Regions from separate parts of the Homo sapiens genome. Here regions 2 and 3 are each linked to region 1. Evidence: promoter capture Hi-C in human tissues and cell types (Jung and others, 2019). All regions are on one chromosome and are shown on one strand. The core of a region is centred on a gene start or on the middle of the fragment in contact, and the rest is flanking DNA. Distances in the headings are between cores, read along the strand shown.

The links. The method cuts DNA at HindIII sites, captures the fragments that hold promoters and counts their contacts. A contact is called where the count stands out against the background at its distance.
Region 2: a contact is called between a fragment that was not itself captured here and the fragment with the promoter of NUFIP1 in region 1, in 1 of the 25 tissues and cell types used here (aorta).
Region 3: a fragment that was not itself captured here is called in contact with the fragment with the promoter of NUFIP1 in region 1 in 2 of the 25 tissues and cell types used here (dorsolateral prefrontal cortex and hippocampus).

Annotation. Positions count from the first base shown.
Region 1 is chr13:44,986,680-44,991,572 of GRCh38, forward strand. It overlaps NUFIP1 (nuclear FMR1 interacting protein 1), which reads right to left and starts at 2,792. Exons shown (of 10, transcript NM_012345.3): 1 at 2,346-2,792. The coding sequence starts at 2,757. It overlaps GPALPP1 (GPALPP motifs containing 1), which reads left to right and starts at 2,859. Exons shown (of 8, transcript NM_018559.5): 1 at 2,859-3,063. The coding sequence starts at 2,976. RefSeq lists enhancers at 2,330-2,968, 2,593-2,662, 2,853-3,042, 2,969-3,605. The HindIII fragment of the contact is 10,586 bases long and covers 1-4,893 here.
Region 2 is chr13:44,437,377-44,442,269 of GRCh38, forward strand. All of the region lies in intron 1 of TSC22D1 (TSC22 domain family member 1), which reads right to left. The region is part of intron 1 of LOC124903167 (a long non-coding RNA gene); the gene reads left to right. Among named protein-coding and RNA genes, the nearest start is that of TUSC8, 34 kb to the left of the region's middle. The HindIII fragment of the contact is 3,872 bases long and covers 1-3,186 here.
Region 3 is chr13:44,459,481-44,464,373 of GRCh38, forward strand. The region is part of intron 1 of TSC22D1 (TSC22 domain family member 1); the gene reads right to left. All of the region lies in intron 3 of LOC124903167 (a long non-coding RNA gene), which reads left to right. Among named protein-coding and RNA genes, the nearest start is that of TUSC8, 56 kb to the left of the region's middle. The HindIII fragment of the contact is 4,111 bases long and covers 815-4,893 here.

The DNA.
Region 1 (4,893 bases), core at 1,542-4,041:
AGACTCCATCTCAAAAAAAAAAAAAAAAAAAGAAGTGGAGCCACAAGATGTGACTTGCTGCAATCTCATGGTAAACCTTTAATGGATGAGAAGTGGCTTCTTATGGATGAGGAAAGAAAGTGCTTTTTTGAGAAGGAATCTACTCCTGGTGAAGATGCTGTGAACACTGTTGAAATGACAACAAAGGATTTATAATATTATATAAACTTAGTTGATAAAGTAGCCTCGACTTCCTGGGCTCAAGGAATCCTCCTGCCTCAGCCTCCCATGCTTCTAGGACCACAGGCATTCCACCACGCCTGGCTAATTTTATTTTTTTTGTAGAGACGGGGGTCTCACTTTGTTGCCCAGGCAGGTCTCAAACTCCTGGGCTCAAGCAATCCTCTTGCCTCTGCCTCTCAAAGTGCTAAGATTAGGCTGGGTGCAGTGGCTCACGCTTGTAATCTCAGCACTTTTCGGAGGCCAAGGAGGATGGATCACTTGAGGTCAGGAGTTCGAGATAAGCCTGGCCAACATGGTGAAACCTTGTCTCTACTAAAAATACAAAAATTAGCCAGGCATGGTGGCGGGCACCTGTAGTACCAGCTGCTCGGGAGGCTGAGGCAGGAGAATCACCTCAACCTGGGAGGTGGAGGTTGCAATGAGCCAAGATCACGCCATTGCACTCCAGCCTGAGCAACAGAGACTCTGTCTCAACAAATTAAAAAAAAAAATAAATAAAGTGCCCAGATTATAGGTGTGAGCTACCCTGCTCAGCCTAAAGTATTTTTTAATCAAGGTATGTAAGTTGTTTTTTAAGACATAATGGTATTGCACACTTACTAGACTATGGTATAATGTAAAAATAACTTTTTTGCCCCATAGGATCTGCAGGAAAACATACTTTTACATGCAACGGAAAACCAAAAAAAAAATAATTGTGTGACTTGCTTTACTGCAGTGGTCTGTAACTGAACCCACAAGAGCTCCAAGGTATCCCCAGATCTAGAATCCAACTACTTCTCACCATCCCTTGGGCTTCACCCTGGTCCAAGTCTCCAATATCTCTTGTTTAGAAAAGTAACTACAATAGCTTCCTAACCGGTTTCCCTTTCAGTCAGTTCTCACCAACAGACACATTAATCCTCTTAAAACGTAAATCAGGTCATGTCAATCCGCTGTACTACCCACCTCACAACAGTAAAAGTCAAAGTCCCACGATCTACAAAGACATACCAGGTCTTACCCTCCTCCCCCATCTTCTACAATTATACTCCAGACTCAGTCCTCTGTAGCCACACTGGTTCCCATTCTGATGTATAGCTTCTAAGCCTCAAGACCTTTGCACTTGCAGTTCCTTCTGCCCGTACCCCTATTCTCCCAGTTGTATGCATGGCTGTGATCTCTCACCTCCCTAAAGTCTTCGCTCATATGTCACCTTCCTTATGACTAACAATGACATTTAAAACTGCACTACCTGGCCCGGCGTGGTGGCTCATGCCTGTAATCCCAACACTTTGGGAGGCTGAGGCGGGCGGATGCCTGAGCTCAGGAGTTAGAGACAGGCCTGTCCAACACGGGGCAACCCCCTTTCTACTAAAAATATAAAAAATTAGCCGGGTGTGGTGGCGTGGGCCTGTAGTCCCAGCTACTCAGGAGTTTGAGGCATGAGAATTGCTTGAACTCGGGAGGCAGAGGTTGCAGTGAGCCTCTCTGCAGAGACTGCATAGGCTGGAGTGAAGTAGATCGCGCTACTCTTCACTCCAGCCTGGGCGACAGAGCGACACTCTGTCTCCAAAAAAAAAGAAAAAAAGAAAATCCTGCACTACTTACCATTCTTCTTTGTTTTATCTCTCTCCATGCCACTCAACCTTCTAATGCACAATATTTTATTTTGCTTATTGTCTGTCTTCCTACACAAGAGAGATAATATTAAGCTCCATAATATTTTTTGTATGTTCTGCTCACTGCTATATACCCAGATTCTGGTACATAGTCGGAATTCAATAAATAACTGCTAAATGGAATTAACAGTCAACAGGAAAACATTCTAGTCAGACATATTTTGAGAACAAAGGATTTACAATATTATATAAACTTAGTTGATAAAGCAGCCTCGACTTCCTGGGTTCAAGGAATCCTCCTGCCTCAGCCTCCCATGCATCTGCGACCACAGGCATGCCACCATGCCTGGCTAATTTTATTTTTTTTGTAGAGACGGGGGTCTCACTTTGCTTTGAGATGCTAATGACCAGACTCCAAGAGTGCAGAGGCAAGGCAGAGTAGAGAGAGGAAGCAGAGAAAGGGGAGAGGAAAGAACGGGGGAAAAAGGTAAAGGGGTCGACTCACGTGGAAAAATAGCCTACCTGCAGGGTTGAAGGACTTCTGATGCCGAGGAAACCTATCAGAAGACTGTCTCCAATACCACGATGTGGAAGCATGGAAATTCCAAGGCTGGCCGCTGGGTTGAGGCTGAGAATCAAGGGGAGACTGGGCGTCGAAGGGGGGTTGCGCCCCGGGAAGAATCTGGGCGTCGAAGGGGGGCGGAGCCCCGGGGAGAGACTGGGCCTCCATGGGGGGCTGCGACTCAGAGGAAGGCTTTGACCCGGCTGCGGGAAGCGAGGACGTAAGTGGTGGTGGCGGTGGCGGCAGCATTGCCCAGAACATCCAGCTGTCCCGCGGCGGGGCAGTGTCGCTCAGGGGCCCTAACGTGGGAGTCAGCTCGGGAGACGCATGCCACCCGATAGGAGTCTCGAAATCACTAGTCGGCTCAGCCATACCACTGGCGGGTCCGGAGTCTAGCACGCGACTGTGGAGCAAGCATTAGGCGTCACTTCCTTTACCGTGAACTACAAGGCTCAGCCAACCACAGGCTTTACGTCATTTCTCGGCGCCGGGAAACCTGCCATTCTTCGCTGCTGATCGCGGGATTCTTTTTGGATAGGGTTGACGTTCGTGGATAGACTCATATCTGTGACCAGTGTCCGCCACCGCGGATGGCAAGAGACCTGATCGGACCGGCCCTGCCGCCCGGCTTCAAGGCCCGCGGAACAGCGGAGGACGAAGAGCGGGACCCGAGCCCTGGTAAGCGGCGGCGTCTCCGCTGCCCACCAGGCCCATCTACCCACTCCCTGGCCGGGCCCTGCTCGCTGAAGAAAGTCGGAGGCCTAGGAGGGCGGAGGAGTGGGGAGTGGGCGCGGCCTGACCCGAGAGAACTTTTCTCTTCCCAAACAGTAGCAGGGGGGAGGAGGCTGGGGGACCCTCCTAGAAACGAGCTTTGGCGTGGTTTGGCTTCGTGATGATAATACATTCTCATTTAGCCTTAATATGAGCTGCACGCTGCCCTAACTGACTGATACCCACTCAGTCATTTAAGCCGTATAAGAAAAAAACTATTTTCCCATGTTGCAAATGGGTACGCCCAAGCCCATGCCAGTGTCTAGATCATACTGCTAGCAAGTGATGGAGCGCGACTTAGAAGGAAGCGGTTCTCTTAACCTCTGTGCCATATTGCCTTCTGATTACAAGAACCTTGCAGATCCTGTTCTCTCCAGCCCCCGACCTGCCTTCCTAGCCTCTCATTCTGTTATTGCATCTGACAAACACAGCCCAATACTCAATCCAGTCTGAGTTGCTGCGCAATTCCTTAACGCTCTAGGCTTCTGGGCTTCCTCTGGTTGCATTCCTAAACATAACTGACAAACTTCTCCCCATCCTTCAAGGCCCAACTTAAATGTCACACCAATAAAACCTTTCCAGATTCCCCGAAGCATTGTCATGCCTTTCTTTTTGCCCTCGGGTTTTTTCCTAATTACATTGCATATTTAGTACACTGTATTTGAATAATTTGTCGACATAATCTGTCTCCACCATTGCACTATGGTCTTCTACCTGAACACGCAACAGGCACTTGGTATATACGAAACGAATGCTTCTCGGATTCCGGCATGCATACCTATCTGCTTTAATGTTTATTCACATTTGTAGACTAGCACCGACACCCAGTTGGAGAAGAGTAAAGCTGAAAGAGTAACCCTGCCATTTCTGAATCTAATTTTTCTTCCTGGTCTACCCGGAGGCTATGTTTCTACTACAGGCCCCTTTCCAATATAATTTCTGTCATAACCACTTTAAAAATTATGCCTTCCAGCTGAGCGAGGTGGCACAAGCCTGTAATCTCAGCACTTTGAGAGGCTGAGACGGGGCGGATCACTTGAACTCAGGAGTTCAAGACCAGCCTGGCCAACATGTTGAAACCCCATCTCTACTAAAAATACAAAAATTAGCCGGGCGTGGTGGCGGGCGCCTGTAATCCCAGCTGCTCTGGAGGCTGAGGCAGGAGAATCGCTTGAACCCAGGAGGCGGAGGTTGCAGTGAGCCGAGAGTGCCACTGCGCTCCAGCCTGGGCGACGGAACGAGAGTTTGTCTCAATAAATAAATAAATAAAAGTAAATGTGAAAAATTATGCTTTCCTTCCTGTAGGAGATAGCTTTAAAAAAATAAAATAAGGCCAGGTGCGGTGGCTCACGCCTGTGAACCCAGCGCTTTGGGAGGCCGAGGCGGGCGGATCACGAGGTCGAGAGATCGAGACCATTCTGGCCAACATGGTGAAACCCTGTCTCTACTAAAAATACAAAAATTAGCCAGGCATGGTGGCACGTACCTGTAGTCCCAGCTACTTGGGAGGCTGAGGCAGGAGAATTGCTTGAACCTGGGAGGCGGAGGTTGCGGTGAGCCGAGATCGCGCCACTGCACTCCAGCCTGGCGACAGAGTGAGACTCTGTCTCAAAAAAAAAAAAGAAAAAGATTCTTCGTATATATTTGTTGAATGACTTCTCTTCGTCAAGCACAATATCTTACACGTAGTGTGTCATTTTAAACACATAATCTCCCCTGCTATAATTCCATTCCCTT
Region 2 (4,893 bases), core at 1-2,500, 550 kb before region 1:
AAAGATAATAATCACCCTGCAATCATGTATTTTTTTAATTTTAGAGGAAAAAAAATCACATTTGCTCTTTGAGAGATACTACCTTTTGTTTTATAGAAACAAAACAAAAAACATTATATATTCTTTGCTAGGCATGAGGGAAAGACTCCAGATAAAATCCAGGATCTTCCCAAAAAGCCCGTAGAGCCACAAACCTTAAAATCACATCTCCCTATTAGCATCTTCTCCCTAGTAACTAAATATGCCTTCTTCTATTTAGACCCAAAAAAGTCAATCCACAGGTTGAATTCCACATAAATCTATTTTTAGTTAAGTCCCTAAGGCACGTTTTTGCAAGCTGAGTGACAATTCCTCTAAGACTCAATCCCTCAATCCTATGAGCCTTCTTACATCAGAGGGATTGAAATATTATAAAGTATGTATTCAAAGCATACAAATCCTTGAAGTTAGTCTCTGCCCATTTGCAGTGTCCAGAACCAGAAAAGGGAGGATATAATGGTGGTTAAAAATAGTTAAGCAGCCAATAGATGCTGTAGGCTCACCTCTGTTTCACCCTCTTGGCCACACTGACCAAATAATTCCCTTCTCCAAACCAAAATCGAGAGATGTGGGTATAAAATAGCTTAACCCTTTCAAAATTTCCTATATTAATTTAAAATACTTGCAGGGATGCATCAATTAAGGCTACAATTTAATATACTAGAAATCTAAGCCCTGAAGTTTGCTAAATTATAATACAACATAAACAGTTTCCAAGTCAATACATGCGAGAAAGAAAACTTAACCTCTACAATACTGCCCTCTAATGGCATAATATAAAAACCAAAAAATCTACAAAGTACTTGGGGAGACCTCTCTAATCTGTAGATAAAATTGTGTCATCACAAATAATTCCAACATAAAATCTGACCGTAGAACATATATATGTAATACACGCACATGCACAAACACACACAGTCTTCTCTCCAAAATAAGCATCTTTCCTCAAGCAGCATCCTTTTCTAAAATTGCCATCAGATCCATTTAGACAGTTTTTAAGTTGACTCAATGCTGGTAGTGGGGGTAGGTAGATTTGGTTTTCAGAAACTGTCCAAAGTTATTAGGAACCAGACCAGATCGGTAAGCACAGTAAATGATGAAGACCACAATTCTCTTTTGGGTTAAAAACCAAAGTGTGACCAACTATAAAGTGATGAGATTCCCTTTTTACTGAAAGGTTCATATTCTCCAAATTTTAAGGCTTGGCTTTTGAATAACAATAATTGTTAACATATTTATAATTTATAAAAATTACATATATTAACTCATATGATGCTTTAAAAAAAAAGATACCCATTTCCAACAAAAGGAGACTAAGTAGAAGCTTAGAAATCGTAATTATTTGGGAAGCTGGCATGTGGTCCCTATGTCTATGAATGCTAACCAGAATATTATTTACTACATGATAGTCTCTATATTTTGAAAGTTAAAGTTATACCTAAAACTATTTGTATGCTAAATTCCATTTACATGTTTTAACTGAATGCCAACTTCATGAAAAAAGGGTATTAAAGCACCATTTAAGCTATAAAAAGAGCTTTAAAAAACAAAACTCTAAGGTCATATAAAAAAATTTTTAAATTCCAAGCTGCAGTTTTAAAAAATTACTAAATTAACTGAATTTATTCATGCCGTTCTTCAACATAAACAGAAAGCTGTTTTTATTTCAATCATTTTAACTGATCATCCATTGTATCAAGCAAGAGAAGCAAATATAAGCAACCATAGTCTATTTAACCCATTTTCCTATTGAAGGACATTACAGTTATTGTTAATACTTGGATATTTTAAATAAAATTGCAAGGAACATCCTTCTACATACATCCTTGAACATGTATGTGTGTGTGCACACTTCTGGAGAATTTGTTGAGCCAAAGGATAGGCAACTAAAAAAATGATTAGAAATCTAATTTTCTCATATATTTCACATAAATATGCTAGATTCCTTTAAAACTAGACTTTTGTATGAAAACTGAGAAGACATAATTTGAAAAAGAAGGCAAAGGAAATGGAAAGCTCCATGGAGGGAAAACCCTTGGATCAGAAATGTCCGTGGCACAAATGGCTAGAATTACATTCAAAGGCTCTTCTAATTGCAAGACAAACGATCCATATGTCTGGTGCCTCATCAGAGCTCACTGAGACTTGCTGACAGGGCAGAGAAAAATACTACAAGGCTTCCAGGAGAGATCCTTAAAGCCATGGACCATATAAGTCTATTTCAGGCACTGAGCAAAGATCAGGAGGTATCACCTCAGTGGGAACTCATACACATTAAACAGCCTGGACAATTGAGATTGAGGTATTTTCTAGTGTTGTCTGCCTAAAAGCCTTTTTACACAGATTCCAATTCAACTGCTACTGCATATTGGTAGCAAGCATGACAGGATAGGAAAAGAGGAACAGGCCTGAGTGTTTCTGTTTCCTGTAACATGTGCTTTTCTTCCAAACTTAATCTGACTTGGCCAACACCGGTACAGTTGGAGATTCAGCACTGAAATAGAGTAACCTCTTTCTCCCCCTATCCAAACTCCTTGCAAATCTAAAACAACTGCCAGGAAAGAAGCGAAGGCACATTACCCTGTACCTGACCAAATCACTGCTGTCTAAGGACTCCCACGTCACCTCCATTTTTCTAGTTTACTCTCACTAGGCATGGGAATATACTTACCAGGTTTAACAAATGAAACTACAGGACTATCAGTTAAATGTGAATGGCAGAAAAACAACAAATAGTGTTTTAGTGTTGGGTCCCACACACTGTCAAAACAAGAAGAAATGCCAAAGAAATGGCTGTTAAATTCAACCACAATTTACATTTCCTTATCTCCACAGAAAGGCTGGTTGGAAAAAGCTTCCAAAAGAGTAGAACAGTGGCCGGGCGCGAGCGCGATGGCTCATGCCTGTAATCCCAGCACTTTGAGAGGGTGAGATGGGCGGATCACTTGAGGTCAGGAGTTCAAGACCAGCCTTGCCAACATGGTAAAACCCCGTCTCCACTTTAAAAAAAAACAAAAACAAATAAATTAGCTGGGCGTGGTGGCACATGTCTATAATCCCAGCTACTGGGGAGGCTGACGAAGAATTGCTTGAACCCAGGAGGCAGAGGTTGCAGTGAGCTGAGATCGCATCATTGCACTCCAGCCTAGGCAACAGGGCAAGGCTCTGTCTCAAAAAAAAAAAAAAAAAAAAAAAGAATCGGAAAAGAAAAAGGATAAATCTAGGAGGTCCAACATCAAAATAGGATGCATTTCTATTTTGGAGAGAGAACAGAAGGAAGAGAATTATCAAATAATTTAAGAATTGTTCCAGAACTGAAGGACACAAGTCTCCAGTTAAATGAGATGACCAAATGCCCACCACAAGAAATGAAAAAGCCCTCCACCAAAGCACACCACCCTGAAACCTTAATCACTAGGCATAGAGAGAAAATACTAAAAGCTTCCAAATGGAAGAAACAAGTTACAAACACAGGGACTAGGAACAGAACCACTTTGCTGGCAGTCAGAAAAAGATGAAGAAAATGTCTTTAAAATTCTGAGAGAAAAGAGTTTTTTTATCCAGAATTCTTTACTTGGCCAAATCATCATTTGAGTGTAAAGGTAGAATTAAAACATTTTTAGATATTTCAGACACCAAAATGGAGGAGCAAATCAAGAAAAAAGGCAGGCATGGGAAATAGGAACCAGGAACTCAGATACTGGAGGAAAGGAAGGGAATCAGCAGGCTGGAGTGCAGGGAGATCTCAGGGGGACTGCTGCTGGACAAGCCCAAGCTGCAGCTGGTCTGTACCTGGTCTGCAATGGTAAGGGAAGATGGAGAACTCCAGGAGGGAGAGCTTCCGTGCTAATGAACACACAGATTATCTAACACATCTAAGCATTTGCAGGGCACAGGTGAGCTACTGATAGGTGTATGATAGATCTAATGGAACAATTAGATAAGCTCAAAGGCAGTTTTACTGAAAACAGAGCAAGGAAGAAAACACGGAATGCTCATAAAATATACATGACCCATATTATTTTTTCATTTTTTTGTGGATTTACCTTTTAAAAGTTAACTTTATTGAGAAGGTAACAGGAAGAAAAATTGCATGGCAGGAATGGTTTAAAACTGCTAAATCCTAATCTACTACAGCTTGATTACCTAACATCTAAAATGGAAAAAGCAAGAAATAGTGTAAGTATAAATATATTACATAGAAATGTGGAGGTAAAAATGAGAAAAAACAACTAAAACTTAAAAGTGGCTGCGTCTAAGGCACCGAGTGGATAAGTGAAAAAAGAGAACTGCTATTTTTTTCTATTCATTCTATTTGCTTTTTGGGTATGTACATGTATTTTGATTAAAAAATTTAAATAAAATAAATTTTAAACACTTCAAAATAAAAGAAAGGTTTATAGGGATCTGCAGCAGTTCTTCCTGCTTCCAGGCTTCAGCAGAGCCCTTAGCACACCTGCATGTGAGGAAACTACCCGAGGCTGGGGAAAGAACCACCCAAAAGAAGCAAGCAGAACAATTTTCAGAAATCACATAGGGTAGGCACCAGTTGGTATTACCACCCACCAGCCTAAATGAAAAAAAAACTCTGTAAAAAGGGATATCAGATATTCAGAAGTATACTGCCTAAGTCTCCTTCTGAATGCTTAGAAGAATTCTAATTCCCTTCAGTCTAGGACTAATTTAAGGGAAAAATGAGTCCTAGACTGAAGAGTGTTTTGGTCCTACATAAAGCAGTTTAAAAGGAAGCCCTGAAAGGTCAAACTGTTTCCAAGTAACTTAATTTTCTCTCAAAACAAAGCTCAAGAATATTTAATAAAGTCTCTAGCATCCAATAATTCACAATGTCTGGCA
Region 3 (4,893 bases), core at 1,620-4,119, 530 kb before region 1:
TCTCCCTCCAGTTGTCCACATACCTCATTCTTCCTGGACACGAGACAAGAACCCAGGACCTGCCGAGTGGTGGGACTGAAAGAGCTGTAACAGAAACAGGGCTTGCCACATTGCAGGTGACAAGAAAGAGAGAAGAGCTGCAGCCCTTCAGGAAGCCCAGACCTAGGGGCTCCCCAACCCAGGGCTGTGACACCCTCTTTGGGGCTCTGCAGTTCCTGGCATCTCCAAGCTTCCAGGCGCCACTGCACTCCCCGGTGCCCACAGTGGAAGCCACTTACAGTATGCCTGGTCTAGCCGCAGCCTTGCACAGAGCCGGCGCCTAGAGCTGCCTACCCCGCTGCAGCCAGCACACCTGGCTGTGCACAGTGGTGAGACCCCAGGCTCGTTTCACACACCCCTTGCCACTGACCCTTGGCAGGCATGGGTGCCTGTCTCATCCTTGGCAGGCATGGGATCCAGGACAGTAGCACAAGCGGAGAGCAGCCAGCGGAAAGCAGCCAGCCAGGCCAAGTGGGTGGAATTATTAGCTCAGAGGGCCTGAGAAAACTCCAGCAAAGGTACCCCCAGCCACAGAGGTTTCTGGCTGAAAAAGCGACACCCCAAGGATCCTGTGACAATAATATTGTTATGACATTTAAAAGAGATAACACAAGAAAAGAACCTGGCTCTTTCCACAGTAATTAAGGTGACCAATTAAGGTGAAGCCCTTGTGTTCTGAACTACTTGGTTTTAGCCATAATTGGGGTTAATCAAAAGAGATCCTCACATTTCTCAAATTACTCCTTAAAGTAGAGAGTTGCTTGAGAATGGCCTAATATAAAAAGTATTATTATAGATTACTTCCAAAGGAAATTTTTTTCAAATACGAAAACCACCTTTATACAGCTTGATGCCCTTTTCCATGACACAGAATAATTATCTGGAGAAGCAATTTATAAGTGACTTCATTGTTTTTGGTAAAAGGGCAACTCAAATTTTGCCTTAATCCCTATGACATGATGAATTAGTTCAGAGGGTGATTCCTAATATTTTTTTACTTTATGTCTTTAAAGAGAACCACCTCTTACTTCCTCACCCATTTATTTGATGTCCTAAACTGTGTTAGAGTCCTTGCAGCCTCTTTCACAGAGGCCATCTCTGCCCTCCTAGACTGTCCTCTAGGAAAAGCTATGGAGGGAGGCCCCATCCGCTTCTAGTGTTCTCTTCCCTTGATTTTGTCATATTTGTTGCTCCAGCAGGAAATCAAGTGACCTTCTCCCCAGAACAAGGAAGAGGAGATAGTCTTTCTTTCCCACCACAGCTCCTTTCCACAAATACTTAATTCACAAACATCTTGTGCCTGGCATTATAGTAGTTACTGGGCTTCTTTCGAGGAGTGAAGAAGCCCTCCTTCTAAAAAGCTTTCAAACCAAAAAATGCTAGTAGAAATGTGAAAACAATGGTTTTTCTTAGCAGTAGGAATGATATAATTTATCATCTAGCTTTATCACAGACCAGTAGAACAGAGATGTTTTCAGATAAAAACAGCTTTCTTGTTATAAATTAAAGTTCAAAGAGAAAAGGAAATGCAAAACAATACTTTTAAACCAAATTTAACTAGGACAGTGGAATGTTTATTGAACAGCTAAATCCTAGGTAATATAATAAGCATGGTACACAGTATCTTGCTTAATATTCAACTCACGTCTATTATCATTGCATATACAAATTAGTAGTTAACTGAGACTATGCAAAATTAATTTGTTCACTCTCATACTGCTAGTAAGTATAATAGCTGACCTGGAATATGAACTCAGGTTTTTCTGACTCAAAAATCTAACTTCTTTCCATACACTTAAATATTTATTTAGTGCCTACCTGTGGTAAGCATTGTGACTGGCCCATAGTCCAGAAGGGGTGGTAGATGTGTAAGCAATAATTATAGGGCAAAGTAATAAGTGTGATATCTTAGGTATATGGCAGGTACCAGGAAAGCATAAGAGAAGGTAACCGAGTAAAGTACTAGATGGTGAGTAGTCAGTAAAGATTTCACCAAGGAATTTTCTCCTAAATTAAATCATCAAGAATAATCTTAAAATCATTAATTAGACCAGAGAATGACTGTATTAAGGGAAAAGCAGAAAATGTCCAAAACAGAGGCAGTAAGTCAAAGCATCGTTATGGAAGGTGCCCAAACAGTAGGGTCCTCTGAAATAATTACAGTATGGTGGGAAATTAAGGCAGATAAATACTCATTCAGAGATCTTCTAATCCCCCAAAACACTGAAAACACTGCTAAGGAATCCGAAATTCACCCCACAGCACATGAGCCCCAGCCAATCAGAACAGATACCAGTTGTAAATGGCCAGTTCAACCTAACTAGTGCAAACCAGCGAAATATCAACCCTGCCTTTAGGAAATAGGAGCACCAGTGGGGTGTTTACCGCAGGGGAGTAGCCTGACCAGCTCTGTATTTTAGGAAGGCAATTCCTAAATATATAGCATGAAGATATAATATGAAGTATGAACAGAAGGAAGGCAAAAGCAGAGACCAGGAATAAATTCTGTTAAAGGGTTTCTGCTGGAGGGAGAGGGGAGATAAATGATTTTAAAAGACGCCAGGTAATCAAAATGTAAACATCATTTCAAATGAGTCTATTACAATAACAAATAGGACTATGTATTATACAGAAACCATTACACAATAAGAATAATTCAGACTGGTGACTCTGCGATTACCCCCACAAATATATTTGAATGTTATTTCAGCAGAGTAACAAGAAAATTACTATCATTTAACTAAGCACCTTGTTTTGTTCAAGTTACATAACATCAAACATCTATTTTACAAACATTTTTGGAAAGGTGCTGGACCATAGAAAATATGGTTCTATAAACTCTACATCACAATGGCCTCATTTAATCTATTTTATGGAAAAAGAAAGCAGACTTGTTCAACAAAAGAAAGAAGTACTGATATATTTCTAATAAGCCTCTGAGTCCTACTCTGTGATCATTTTATTATAGCAAATGTTCAAGCTATATATTCTGGCCCACACTACTTTCAGTTATATGGATCACTACTCCAGTAAACCATTTACAAGCCTACAAATGGCAATGTGTACAATTACAGCACAAAAATCTAAATAAAAACAAATCTTATACAATATCAAGATCTGTAAAGTGTCCATATTATGAGATACAAGATATTAGAGGTTCCTCTACTTATAGTATTTGTCTGGGTGCTTTAAGTAGTTGATATAGGCTCTATTTCCAAATCAATAAGATAATATAAAAATTCAGAAAGACCCTCAAAGGAACACAAAATAAGTCATAAAACTAGAGTACAGGAGAATAAGGAACAAAAAGAATCAAGCATGGTATGTCTCAGATCCATTAGGACGATTAATGTGTTTGGGAATTTTTAAAAACTGTTCACTTATTTGTGAAAAGTAAAGAGTTACAGCTAACATATAATTACAAACTATAAATTATAAAGATTTTAGATGCATATTGCACTTACAAAGAGTTTGAGGAACTTAAACAGTTTAAATCCTGCCAGTCATCAATGAAAGAGATCACTTAATACTTTCTTTCTTTCCCCTACTAATCCTAGTTCTAAAATAAAAACTAAAGCTGATCATACAAGAAAATATTGCCTATGAGTTTCTCATGTGTTTGATTAAAGGGATCAGTTTTACTTGACAAAGTAACAAAAACAGACATCACCATCTCTGTATAAGCATAGAGAACAAAAGTAATAAATAGACATAAAAGCTACATGGTATTTCCTAAAATTATGAATTTTCAGCAAACAGTCCATGGAAATTTCTTTTAAGTGTGGTAATGACCTAACATCCATACATCAAATTCAACTTATTTGACAAATCTGCAAGCTTCTCACATATCTGTATTACTCTTCAGTCTATCCAGAATTATAGAAATAGCAGTTCTAGCTAAACTGCAGTTTAATTACTGGTTGACTTTGAATTAGAAGTTAAGGTGGCTAAACAGCCCATATGTTAAACATAAAAAACTTAAACTCAGAGGTGGGTCAATGCAAATAAAATCAGATTCACTGTTGAATTTCATTAGGAGGTTTGCATAAAGAGAACAGTTCTCTCTTTCAAAATGGCCTTTTTAAACAAATAGCTAACTCCTTAAATGTGTGGCATTTGATTAGAGGATTTCATGAAAAAAATGTATTTGCAAATTAATGGCCATTTGCTCTAAAGATATAATAAAGAAGAAAAGGTTTTAAAGAATCCTTACCTATAATCCAATCATGGTAATTGTCAAAGAATGCCAGAGTAGAAGATTAAATCATAAGAGAAAAATTAGTCATTTCCCATACTGTTTACTGTACCTGTTTTTGAGTTATCTTACATGTATGTACCTAGCTTAAATTTTCATATTCAAGCATGAAACCCTCATGCTGGCCTATGGAGAGTTCCACAGTGCTAAGAACTGAGGTGCTTCCTGCCAACAGACAGCATCAGCTTGCCAGCCATGTGAGTGAGCTGTCTTAGGATGGATCTTCCGGCCCCAGTGTCAAGTCTTGGGATGATGGAAGCCCTAGCTGACATCTTGACCTCATGAGAGACCCTGAGCCAGAACCACCTAGCTAAACCACTTCCAAATTCCTGGCCCTCAGAAACTAAGATGATCCTCATTGTTTTAAGCCACTGAATTTTAGGGTAACTTGTAATGTAGCAATAGAGACCTAATAAAAGGACATGTAAAAATAATAATAGTATTTTAGTGTGACTGTAATAGAAGAAGACTGGGAGTAATTTTGTCTTCTACTTCCTAAACTTTCTTTAAGGTTATGTCACTTTCATTGTTCCATTTTTTTAAAAGCGTAATGTTCATATTACTCCCACCATTTTCTTTGGAGAAGTTTTACCGAAGTC